Regions from separate parts of the Homo sapiens genome. Here regions 1 and 3 are each linked to region 2. Evidence: promoter capture Hi-C in 16 types of primary human blood cells and fetal thymus (Javierre and others, 2016). All regions are on one chromosome and are shown on one strand. The core of a region is centred on a gene start or on the middle of the fragment in contact, and the rest is flanking DNA. Distances in the headings are between cores, read along the strand shown. Region 1 holds the start of PRDX1 (peroxiredoxin 1). Region 2 holds the start of PTCH2 (patched 2). Region 3 holds the start of NASP (nuclear autoantigenic sperm protein).

Region 1 (3,881 bases), core at 102-2,601, 680 kb after region 2:
GCCATCATAGTGAAACCCCGTCTCTAACAAAAATACAAAAAATTAGCCGGGGGTGGTGGCACGCGCCTGCAGTCCCAGCTACTCGGGAGGCTGAGGCAGGAGAATGGCGTGAACCCGGGAGGCGGAGGCTGCAGTGAGCCGAGATCCAGCCACTGCACTCCAGCCTGGGCGACAGAGCGAGACTCCGTCTCAAAAAAAAAAAAAAAAAAAAAATACAAAAATTAGCCGGGGCTTGGTGGCACAAGCCTGTAATCCCAGCTACTCCTAAGGCTGAGGCAGAAGAATTGCTTGAATTCGGGAGACAGGGGTTGCAGTAAGCCGAGACCGCGCCACTGCACTCCAGCCTGGCCGACAGAGCGAGACTCTAGCTCAAAAAACAGAGATTTAACCCACTAAGCCGCGGTCTGAAAGCTTTTCCAAGTCCCAAAGTTCTTAGTTCACAATACCACAAGCAAAAGAAATTTTGTAAGCATGGATCTTAGCAAACTTTTAACTGTTTTTTAAAAAGTCCTTAACACCTTTAACGACAAAAAACAAAAACCAAAAACTAAGGCATGCTGCAACTTGGTGCCCCCAAATGGCCTTCTCGTCCAATCCTTCTTTCCCAAGTGGCCCCCAAGTACAAAACCCAACCAATTCGGGGTAAAGGCTGCTGGGATTCAGGCCGCCACCGGGCCCCTTCAGGGGATCTGCCCAGCGTAGAGGGCCACATCCCTAAACCCCACTTCAGGTGCCCCCTGTCCCTCCCCAGCACTGGAGAAAGCACCAGCAGAGAGAGTGCTTCAGCGGGGACATTTGGGCTCATCGCTAACTCCATTCCACGTACAGGAAAATAAAGACGGGGAAAGGGTACCCGAAGCTCCGCAGCTAGTCAAGGCTCAGGACCCGGAACAGCCAAATACATAGAGGCTGTCTTCTACAGCCACGAGTCTGGATACAGGTCCATTCCAGAAGCTTCCCGAACCCACCCCGTCCGGCAGGAGGCTAGTCTCGGAGACCCCCACCACCAGCCCGCCCAGACGCCGCGCCACGTGCTCGAGTTGCCGGGGGAAGACTCGACTCGAGTCCACGCTTGCCTTGGGGTTCAACCAGGTTCCCGCACCTACGTGGGGGGCCCACGAGAGGGGTGTGCGCAGCGCTCAAGCAGTCTCGGACTCCGGGCCTCCCCCGGCTGCCTCACGCATCACAGCACCCCCACCCGAGCGCGGGCGGGCCCCGGACAGGAGGAGGAAGAGGCAACAGGCAAGAAGGGCGCGCCGCGCCTCACTCCGCAGGGGCCGCACTGCCCACACTCACCAGTCCCAACACAAGTCGCAGAAACTAACCACCGACACCAGGCAAGAACAAGACGCGCAAGAGCTCTCCGGGGCGCTGCCTTTATAGCCAGTAGGGATCTCGCGAGAGTCGGAACGGACGGGGGTGCCGGAGGAGGAGAGAGAGGAGGGGGATGTGGCCCGAGCCCCGCCCGGCGCGCCCCGCCGGAATGACTCGGCGCTTTCCCTCGTTGGGGCGGGTGCGGAAAAATACTAATACCCCACCCTGTTGCGGATGGCTGAGGTTGGAGTGAGGCGCCCTTGTGGCCGCTCCCGAACCCGAACGCTTAGGTTAATCCTAGATCTCTGCGGAAAACCAGGATTCTCTTTACTTCCAGGACCACTACGCACTGTGCCCTCAATGCCCAAACTGGAGTAAGCGTCTTAGCTGCTGCCCACGGAGGACCACGTCTAACCACACCAAGCCATGAGAACTGTCTATCCAAATATTTCTTAAGTTCGCAGCCTTAACCCCAGCGCAGATCCTCAGTAACCCTCATGGCTTAGATAGCTTCCTTCATTGTTCTCTTTAATTACAGGGTTGCTGCTTTCTGTTGTAAAGGAAAATAAAATATCAGGACTCCTAAACTTACGCCAGAGGGAAAGTTCATCTTGGGAGGCTGATTCAGTTACACGACCATCCTCTCCCCGGATGAATAATTTGACTTTACAATCTTGAGTCAAAACATTACACATTAGCCAGACCCACACGGTAAGGCAAAAGGCCTCAGACATTTCCTGATGACTACCCCCCACAAACACACATACACAAAATCATAATTAATTATTTGCTCCCCTGGAAACCTTTAAAGTATGTAGCCTCCCATAAAACAAGGACGTGTCAATTGCAACTAGATCTACAATATAAAGTCTAGTTCCTAAAACTAAAGTTTGTTCTATTCCACATTTTTTTGAGACGGAGTCTCACTCACCCTGTCGCCCAGGCTGTAGTGCAGTGGCACGGTGTTGGCTTACTGCAACCTCCACCTCCCGGGCTCAAGCGATTCTCCCGCCTCACCTCCGGAGTGTCTGGGACTACAAGCACGCACCACCACGCCCAGCTAATTTTTTGTATTTTTAGTAGAGACGAGGTTTCATCATGTTGGCTAGGCTGGTCTCCAACGCCTGACCTCAGGTGATCCGCCCGCCTTGGCCTCCCAAAGTGCTAGGAATGTAAGCGCGAGCCACCGCACCTGGCCTCTATTCCACAAATTCCATAAATGTTCACTACTAGATTACCTTTCTACTAGACTACTTTCTACCTTTCTAGTAGTACCTTACTACTAGATTACCCTGAGTCCACCACATAATTGTTTTCTTCCTCCATTCCCTTTTTCTTCAAACATTCACCTTATCTTATGTAAAAATGTAGATTTAGGCCACCTAGGAGGGCGGATCATAAGGTCAGGAGATCGAGACCATCCTGGCCAACATGGTGAAACCCTGTCTCTGCTAAAATACAAAAACTTAGCCGAGTGTGGTGGCGCGCCTGTAGTCCTAGCTACTTGGGAGGCTGAGGCAGGGGAATCGCTTGAACCCGGAGGCAGAGGTTGCAGTGAGCCGAGAGCACCACTGCACTCCAGCCTGGCAACAGAGCAAGACTCCGTCTCAAAAAACAAAACGTAGATTTCCTGAGCATTAGCTAAAGTCTTTGCCTCAATCTTTCCCACCCCCACTTTTCAAGGAAAATGTATAAATACTAAAAACCTCCTGAGAACCTCTTGGGAAGAAACAGCCACAAAAGTGTCTGTGACATGGTTTAGTCAGTTTAGTCACTCATTTCAATTAACACTATCTCTTATCCATCCCTTCCACTGCAGCTGAAGGAAATCTTTCTGAAGTCTGATCATGTCACTGTTATTCGTGGTTTAAAAGCTGGGGAAGAAACAGCCACAAAAGTGTCTGTGACATGGTTTAGTCAGTTTAGTCACTCATTTCAATTAACACTATCTCTTATCCATCCCTTCCACTGCAGCTGAAGGAAATCTTTCTGAAGTCTGATCATGTCACTGTTATTCGTGGTTTAAAAGCTGGGGCTAAAGAAAGAAAGAAAGTAAAATTTAAAAAGAAAAGAAAAATAAAAAATAAAATAAAAGCTGAGGCTCTGTAGTCAATTTACTGAGTTAAAACTCCTCACTGTCAGGGCCGGGCGCGGTGGTTCATGTCTGTAATCCCAGCACTTTGGGAGGCTGAGGAGGGCAGATCACCTGAGGTCAGGAGTTCGAGACCAGCCTAACGTGGAGAAACCCCATCTCTACTAAAAATACAAAATTAGCCACGTGTGGTGGCGCATGTCTGTAATCCCAGCTACTCTGGAGGCTGAGGCAGGTGAATCGCTTGAATCAGGGAGGCAGAGGTTGCAGTGAGCTGAGATAGCGCCATTGCACTCCAGCCTGGGCAACAAGAGCGAAACTCTGTCTCAAAAAAAAACACACACACACAAACACAAAAACTCCTCACTGTAATTTTAGGTGTGAACTTGGGCAAGTCTTAAACTCATTAAACCTTACTTTTCTCAACTGTAAAATGGGAATAATATTAATACTTTATTGTGATTATCTATGTAGT
Region 2 (3,871 bases), core at 34-2,533:
CCAGAGAGAAGAGCAGGCCCTGGAAGTAAGCACGAAGCCAGAGTGGAGCCTTCAGGCTCCCAGCTAGGATCTGGGATGGAAAGAGAAGGGTCAGCCAGGCATCACTGCAACAATGCATGAAATCCTTCCCTTCTCACCCTGTATATCTGCTGCCCAGCCCTCGCTTCTTGATTTCTGGATGTGGGACAGGGAGCACCAACACAGACACAGGCCCAGACTTGGAAGATGTAACACCCACCATCCCCAGCACACACCTGAGGAAGGCATAGGCCTATTTTCCTTTCTTTTCTTTTTGTTTTCTCTCCTTTTTTTTTTTTTTTTTTTTTTTGAGACGCAGTCTCGCTCTGTTGCCCTGGCTGGAGTGCAGTGGTGTGATCTCGGCTGACTGCAACCTCCGCCTCCCAGGTTCAAGAGATTCTCCTGCCTCAGCCTCCCGAGTAGTTGGGACTACAGGCGCCCGCCACCACGCCCTGCTAATTTTTTATTTTTAGTAGAGACAGAGTTTCCCCATGTTGGCCTGGCTGGTCTCGAACTCCTGACCTCAGGTAATCTGCCTGCCTCAGCCTCCCAGTGTTGGGATTACAGGCGTGAGTCACCGCGCCCGGCCGGCATAGGCCCATTTTCTGAGAGCAGGATACATATGTACACACACCTGTCGTCGGGTGGACACAGAGGTGAACCCACAGACATTCATTCTCACTGGCCAGACGATGAGGAGACACCGGCACAGACACACCGACACACACGCACAACTTGCTTGCGGTGCTGGCTCTCACTTGCCTTCAGACATCTAATGACACTCGGCACTTCAAGACATCACAAACCTTGCAGAGGCCCGAGTGACAGACCTGGCTCCGCTCTCTTCCTTCTTCCAGCTCCCCCTCTACTCACCTGGGGTGCTGCGGTTCGAGCTGGGGGTGTGTAACTCGGGGGCAGCTCTCTGAGGGGCGGCGATCGAGTCATGCTGGCGGGGATGGGGGGCGCGGGCGCCCCCAACCCGCGTTATCTGGGCGCTCCCATAGGCTAGCCCGGTCTCCCGGTACCGCTGGGCCCCGCGTAGGGATTCAGTGGGGCCGCCAAGGCGCGGGCGTGGGAGAGACTGTGGGGTGTGGGTGTTAAAGCGGCTGGGAGGGAGGAGTGCAGGGAGCTGCGGGTCCGGGGCGCGGCGCCGGGATTCACCCGCTCCGTGGGCCGTGGGCCGCGGCGGCTGGAGGAGGAATGGGTCCCGCGCGCAGGCGGAATTGCTGGCCCGAGACGCACAGCAGGGCTCGAGGTGGCAACTGCAGTCCCCGGGAGGCGGCTGGAGCTCCAGAAAAGGGAGCTGGCCGGGGCGACGCCCTCCCATTGGCTGAGGGGCCCGCAAATTACCCTAGCCGCGCGGCCCGGCCCGCTGCTAGGTAACGGCGCCGCAGGGGGCGGGGCGGGAGACCACCCAGGCTGGGCCACCCCGCGCCTCCCTCCCGCCCGCGGGGCCCCAGGGAGGAGGAGGGAGGGGGATCCCGGAGAGGCGCAGCGCCGGCCAAGTGTAAGTCCAGAGGCTTACGCTGAGAAAGGGCCTTTGCGGGCTCTGTTAGGGATACACTTTTTTTTTTTTTTTTAAGACGGGGTCTCACTCTGTCACCCAGGCTGGAGTGCAGTGGCTCCATCTCGGCTTGCAGGCTCCGCCTTCCAGGCTCAAGCCATCCTCCCACCTCAGCCTCCCGAGTAGCTGGGATCACAGGCATGCACCACCACGCCCGGCTTTTTGTATTTTTGGTAGAGAACGGGTTTCGCCATGTTGCCCCGGTTGGTCTCAGACTCCCGAGCTCAGGATATCCGCCCGCCTCAGCCTCCCAAAGTGTTGGGATGACAAGCGTGAGCCACCGCGCCCGGCCTAGGGCCACAATTTCTTTTTCTTTTCTTTTTTTTTTTTTTCAGGCTTAATTCACTTTATTTTTCTTGTATAAAAACCCTATGTTGTAGCCACAGCTGGAGCCTGGATCCTCTGCGCGGAGACTCTGGTGTGGGTCTTGACGAGGTGGTCAGTGAATTCCTGATAGGGAGACTTGGTGAATACAGTCTCCTTCCAGAGGTCGGGGGTCAGGTAGCAGTAGGTCTTAGAGATGGCATCAAAGTGGGTAGGGCCACACTTTCTTTCCGACCCAATCAAAGCCCAAGATTTCTTCTGTTCACTCTTCCCGGCTTCCATTCTTGCCCTCTTCAGTCCACTCTCTCCACTGAGACCAGAGTCATTTCTCTAACATGCAAATCTGATAGCTCCAAAGCACAAGGCCCACTTGGAGCACAGGGCCCTGTGTGATCTAGCTAAAGCCTTCTCTCCCATAGTTCCCTCACATCAGTGTTCCCTCGTTCCTGCCTTTGTACATGTTTTGGTCCTTTTGTCTTGGCAGATAATCTTCAAAAACTGAACTTGAATCACCCCCAAAACCCACCTTTTTTTTTTTTTTTTTGAGGCAGGATCTCCCTCTGTTGCCCAGGTTGGAGTGCAGTGGTGCCTTCACAGCACACTGCAGCCTTGAGCTCCCAGTCTCAAGGGATCCTCCCACCTCGACCTCCCAAATGGCTGGGACTACAGGTGTGCACCACCACACCTAGCTAATTTTTGTAATTTTGTATAGACAGGGTTTTGCCATGTTGCCCAGGTTGGTCTCAAACTCCTGGGCTCAGGTCATCTGCCCACCTGGGCCTTCCAAAGTGCTGGAATTATAGGCGTGAGCCACTGTACCCAGCCTACCCCCTCTTTGAAACCTTCCTTGATTCATGTCTCTCTCCTGGCAGATAATTGCTTCTTTGTGCTCTGCATAACAACTCAATTTATATATGTATAATTGCATTTATGACACAAAAACTTATGTACTTGAAAGTCTGCCTTCTTCACCAGACAATAAATAGGTGCTTAATAATTGTTGAGTGAGTCACTAAGAGTTGCAGAATTCAGGGTGTAAAGGATTGGAAATTGGGAAGAATAGAGGCAATAGTCCCTCTATTAAACTTTCAACTATCCTATCTGAGTGTGCTGTTTCTATTGGGTTCCTGATTGATAAACCTCAAGTGGCAGAGTAGGGTAAAATCAATATTCCAATATGTAAAGTTTGAGAAAGAGAAAATGAATCTACAATAAGCTAATTTTTCTAACACAACTACTATTATCTCTGGCAAATTTCTTGGTCAGTTCTTCCAGACTTAAAAAAAATCATTCCATCATAAATATTTCATGTTACTATGTAGTTTTTGTAATCAATCATTTGGAGAATATCCTTAGGACAGATTCCCAGAAGTGGGTTGTTTGGGTCAAAGAGTATGAACATTTTTATGGCTCTTGATACACACTGCTCAACTGATTTTTTGAAAGCTTGTGCAAATTAACATCATCTCTAGAGCCTCAGTCCTGGGGAAGAGGAACATTTAGGTTGAAGGGGTGAACACCTAACAGGTTTGCCATTTCCATTTGTCCATTCACCCAGAAAAATGCCTATGGAGGAACTAATATATGTATGATGCTGTTGGCCAAACAGTAACTGCACATGAAAAGCAGCCTACCTGAATAGCACTTTCTTCTCCCTGTTATAGAGTGTGTCCTGCTGAGCATAAAGTGGCATGGTAGCTCATGCTTGTAATCCCAGCCCTTTGGGAAGCTGAGGCGGGAGGATTGCTTGAGGCCAGGAGTTCAAGCCCTGGCAACATAGTGAGACCCCATCTCTACAAAAAATAAAAAATTAGCTGGGTGTGGTGGCGCACACCTGTAGTCCCAGCTACTTGGGAGGCTGAGGCAGGAGAGTTGATAGAGGCTGCAGCGAGCTGTGATTGTGCCATTGCACTCCAGCCTGGGCGACAAAGTGAGACCCTGCCTCAAAAAACAATAATAATGATA
Region 3 (4,455 bases), core at 1,754-4,253, 740 kb after region 2:
GTCTCACTCTGTCACCCAGGCTGGAGTACAGTGGTGCGATCTCAGCTCACTGCAACCTCCACCTCCTGGGTTTAAGTGATTCTCCTGCCTCAGCCTCCTGAGTAGCTGGGACTACAGGCCCCCACCACCATGTCCGGCTAATTTTTGAATTTTTAGTAGAGATGGGTTTTTACCATGTTGGCTAGGATGGTCTTGATCTCCTGACCGTGTGATGCACCCGCCTTGGCCTCCCAAAGTGTTGGGATTACAGGCGTGAGCCACTGTGCCCAGCTATTCATTTTATTTTATTTATTTATTTTTTGAGATGAAGTCTCGCTCTGTTGCCAGGCTGGAGTGCAGTTGCACGATGTCGGCTCACTGCAAACTGCCTCCCAGGTTCAAGCGATTCTCCTGCCTCAGCCTCCCGAAGTAGCTGAGATTTCAGGCGCCTGCCACCACGCCTGCCTAATTTTTGTATTTTTAGTAGAGATGGGGTTTCACCAGGGGATCCAGGCTGGTCTCAAACTCCTGACCTCAGGTGATCTGCCCGCCTCGGCCTCCCAAAGTGCTGGGATTACAGGAGTGAGCCACCGCGCCCGGCCTGCATCCAGCTATTTATTTTTTTTTGAGATGGAGACTCACCATCGCCCAGGCTGGAGTGTAGTAGTGCAATCTCAGCTCACTGCAACCTCCAACTCCTGGGTTCAAGTGGGTCTCTTGCCTCAGCCTCCCAAGTAGCTGGGATTACAGGAGCCTGCCACCACTCCCGGCTAATTTTTGTATTTTTAGTAGAGATGGTGTTTCACTATGTTCGCTAAGCTGGTCTCGAACTCCTGACTTCAAGTGATCCGCCTGCCTCAGCCTCCCAAAGTGCTGGGATAACAGGCACCTGCTACCACGCCCAGCCTAAAATATATTTTAAAATATATTTCTCTGAGTTCCTCAAGGTAGAGTCCATGTCTTTTGTCCCCAGAACCTAGTACAAAGTCTTGTACCTCAAAGTTGCTCAGTGAATATTAATTTAATGGATGAATCGGTCACACCAGTAATTGCAGAGGTTTTCTCAGGCCCTAGCCCTGGCTGCAAGGACTTTGGAGAGATCTCCCCTCCCAACACCCTCCATTTACCACATCATCAGACTGTGGTAGCCATTCAATGAGTGCTTAGCGTGAATTCTACACAGTGCTAATTACCTGTAATTCTCACAATGTCCTTAAGCGGTGGCTACTAATATGTCTTCATTTTACACTTAACCTTAATCCCAGCTACTCGATTACAATCCGGGTTACGTGACCTGGCTCACGTCACCTAGCTAATAATGGAAGAGCCCATGTATGTTTGCCATAGGAATTGGCATTTTCACGTCCAGCTCTCTAGCCCCAAAGATTTCAACCTCTTCGAGCCTTGACAGATTGGAATAAGAATCCTCTCCAGGAATCTTTCCCAATATGCTGGAACCTAAAGGGAAATAAAAACCCCTACTCCGATCAGCGTAGACTGGGCCATGGTGAAAAGGAATGGATGATACTCCAGGTGTGAGGAATTGCAGCTTTTTAGCCTGCCAGTTATTTTTCACTCAGCCATTTGCAGGAAATGAGGCACACTGCTTTCCATAACTGATTTGTCTTGCAACTTTCTGAACAAGTCACAGCTTCCCCTTTTTTTTTTTTTTGAGACGGAGTCTCGCTCTGTTGCCCAGGCTGCAGTGCAGTGGCGAGATCTCGGCTCACTGCAACCTTTGCCTCCCGGGTTCAAGTGATTCTCCTGCCTTAGCCTCCCGAGTAGCTGGGATTACAGGAGCCTGCCACCACACCTGGCTAATTTTCGTATTTTTAGTAGAGACGGGGTTTCACCATGTTGGCCAGGTTGGAACCTTGGCCTATTTATTTATTTATTTTTGAGACGGAGTTTCGCTCTGTTGCCCAGGCTGGAGTGCAGTGGCGAGCTCTCGGCTCACTGCAACCTCTGCCTTCCGGGTTCTAGTATTCTCCTACCTCAGCCTCCCGAGTAGCTGGGATTACAGGCGCCCGCCACCACGCCCGGCTAATTTTTGTATTTTTTAGTAGAGACGGGGGGGTCTCACCATCTTGGCCAGGCTGGTCTTGAACTCCTGACCTCGTGATCCACCAGCCTAGGCCTCCCAAAGTGCTGGGATTACAGGCGTGAGCCACCGCGTCCGGCCCCTTGGTTTATTTTTCTAAGAAACAGACTAACACTGATCTCACTAGTAGCATTGTTAATATTAAACAAGATAGCTAATAGCTTTAAAGCGTCTAATCACGGTACCCCCACGAGTAGTAGTCACACAGCAAATCATAGGCAGGAGTGGACAAACAGCGCTGGGAGCATTAATTCTGGTAGATTTGGAGTCTGGGCAGGGCCTAAGAGGATGGGATCAGCGGATTGGGCCAGCCAAAGGGGGCGGGTTCAGAGGGAGGAGCCAGCTGCCTCCCGCTGCAAGCCCCGAGCTTTGAATCAAGCGCGGTAGTTTCAGCTGTAGCCAATCCTAGAACAAAATCTTTTTGCGTCAGTTGTTGCTGAGGCCTAGATCTCACCCAGATCAGTTCTAGTCGCTGCTGCTTGTACCCGTCCTCGGCCCTTGCGTGTCCGTCCGTTACGACTCAGAGGACGGAGAGAAAGTCTAAGTCACCTTCCTCAGTATCCAGGCCGGAAGGAGACTCTCAGCTACTCGCCCTGAACATGCAGAGCAGCACTGGCTTCCCTGTCTCTGGATGCCGCAGGGGCGTCCTGTCAGGAGTTGTAGTGTCAAGATTCCAGTTCTTCTTATGCGACTTGCTGGAGAAGCAGGAAGTTGCTGTTTATTGGAGAAGTCGGGCTAGGGAGGGAAACAATCCCGCGGAGCCATATGGAGAGGGCAGGAGGTGTCTAGATAGTGGTAGGCCGGCGGGGGACGGAGGGTATGGGTGGTGAGTCCTGGCCCTTTAAACCCGAGGGGGAGGATCCGGAAGTGGATGGGCGGGGCGAAGGGTCCTCGTATATAAAAGGGCCCCGGCCGCGCGGGGTCTCTAATCTGCCATTTTCTGTCCCTGAGTGAGTCTCTGGCGTCCCAAATTGCCTGTTTTTCTCGCAGGCTCTATTCCGTTCGCTGGTTCGCCACCTCAGGGGAACGATGGCCATGGAGTCCACAGCCACTGCCGCCGTCGCCGCGGAGCTGGTTTCTGCCGACAAGTAAGCGGGACTGTGGAAAGCTTAAGGCACTGGCCAGTCCGCGGGGAGGGCTAATGGACGGGGGCTCCGGAGAAGGGGCAGACCGGTGGGCGGGAGTACTTGCCTTCCCAAGAGCAGCTGTCGCTGTTCGGGAAGGCCTGGTCACTGGAGCAGTCCTTCTTTTGCTGAGAGCCTCGCGCAGCAGCGGTAACGGCGGTCGGCTGGCGCCCCCTGCCCCGCTTTTCGCGGCCGCCATCTTGCCGGGGGCAGCGGCGGCTGTATCCTTCGCCTGCCCCTCTCCTTCCTCCCCCAGCCCGGGGCGGTTGGCCGGGAGGCGGGGCCCTGGCGCGCGGGTTGGCCTTCACGCCCCTTCTGTCCCCAGCGTGTGCCTCTGGTAGAACCCCTGGATAACCCGGGAATATAACCAACGAAGATTTGGCGCCAAAAGGGAAAAAAAACCTTGCACGAGGAAGGAGGCTGGACCTGAGGGGTCGGGGTGGGCGGGGCCTTGCTGAGGGCGGGGTTTTGCGCGCGTGCGTTCGCTTCCCTCGCCGGCCCTGGGGCAGGGGGCGGGGCCTTGAGGAGGCGGGAAAACTCCATTGTTTGGGGCCGCTGCGGCTCCAGCAGGAGCTTTGGACTATCTCCGTGGGGCCGGCGAGGCTAGTTCCCCCCGACACCTCGCTCACGTCTTGTGCTGGGAGATAGTTATCGCTCCCCGCGACTCCGTGAGCCCCTGCCTGTGGTGGGGAGGATTGTCGTTCTTTAGACTTTGGAGGTGGTGTCTGTTTGGGGGGAACATTACCGGACGTAAAGCGTCTTCAGGAAGCGCTGTCTGGAGCTCTCACCAGCACTGTTTGGTTGCTAGGTGAATCGGCAGTAGTATGCACGAAGTGGAGAAGGACTGGAGGGAAACAAGATAGGATTGTTTTGAAAGCGGCACAGTGCCACTCAGGCGTAATCTGTTTTTTGAACAGTGGAGGGAAACACTACACGAGTTCAAGGAAACAAGTGCTGTTTCCCATACAGTAGGTCTGATTTCCCAATCTTGCCATATTTTTTTAGGCATCTGGTTCTATTTTTTTTTCTAATCTTGTGCGCTTTAGAGGTTAGTTGCCTTCCCTGTAAAAGGAATGGTTGCTGTGAAGTTTTTTAAATTGATATTCTATAGGCTTACACTCTGTCATGATTATGTCTTTGTTTGTTTATAGTTAGAGATTTACGTATATCTCTGCTTACCACCTTTTCTCTCTGCGTTCTTGTAGAGCAGTGGTTCTCAAGTCACCCTGAGAATCATTTGGGAACTCATGG

What was found. The method cuts DNA at HindIII sites, captures the fragments that hold promoters and counts their contacts. A CHiCAGO score of 5 or more calls a contact.
Region 1: the fragment with the promoter of PRDX1 here is called in contact with the fragment with the promoter of PTCH2 in region 2 in 1 of 17 cell types (naive CD4 T cells); the score reaches 6.0 in naive CD4 T cells.
Region 3: a contact is called between the fragment with the promoter of NASP here and the fragment with the promoter of PTCH2 in region 2, in 2 of 17 cell types (neutrophils and total B cells). The highest score is 7.0, in neutrophils.

The regions. Positions count from the first base shown.
Region 1 is chr1:45,520,533-45,524,413 of GRCh38, forward strand. It overlaps PRDX1 (peroxiredoxin 1), which reads right to left and starts at 1,352. Exons shown (of 6, transcript NM_181697.3): 1 at 1,297-1,352. RefSeq lists a silencer at 546-708 and an enhancer at 1,751-1,830. The HindIII fragment of the contact is 8,348 bases long and covers 953-3,881 here.
Region 2 is chr1:44,841,970-44,845,840 of GRCh38, forward strand. It overlaps PTCH2 (patched 2), which reads right to left and starts at 1,284. Exons shown (of 22, transcript NM_003738.5): 1 at 892-1,284; 2 at 1-70. The coding sequence starts at 963. RefSeq lists a silencer at 1,230-1,499. The HindIII fragment of the contact is 9,661 bases long and covers 1-3,350 here.
Region 3 is chr1:45,581,038-45,585,492 of GRCh38, forward strand. NASP (nuclear autoantigenic sperm protein) reads left to right here and starts at 3,004. Exons shown (of 15, transcript NM_002482.4): 1 at 3,004-3,168. The coding sequence starts at 3,110. RefSeq lists enhancers at 1,620-1,669, 2,080-2,139, 2,590-2,899 and silencers at 2,430-2,489, 3,400-3,699. The HindIII fragment of the contact is 9,802 bases long and covers 1-3,186 here.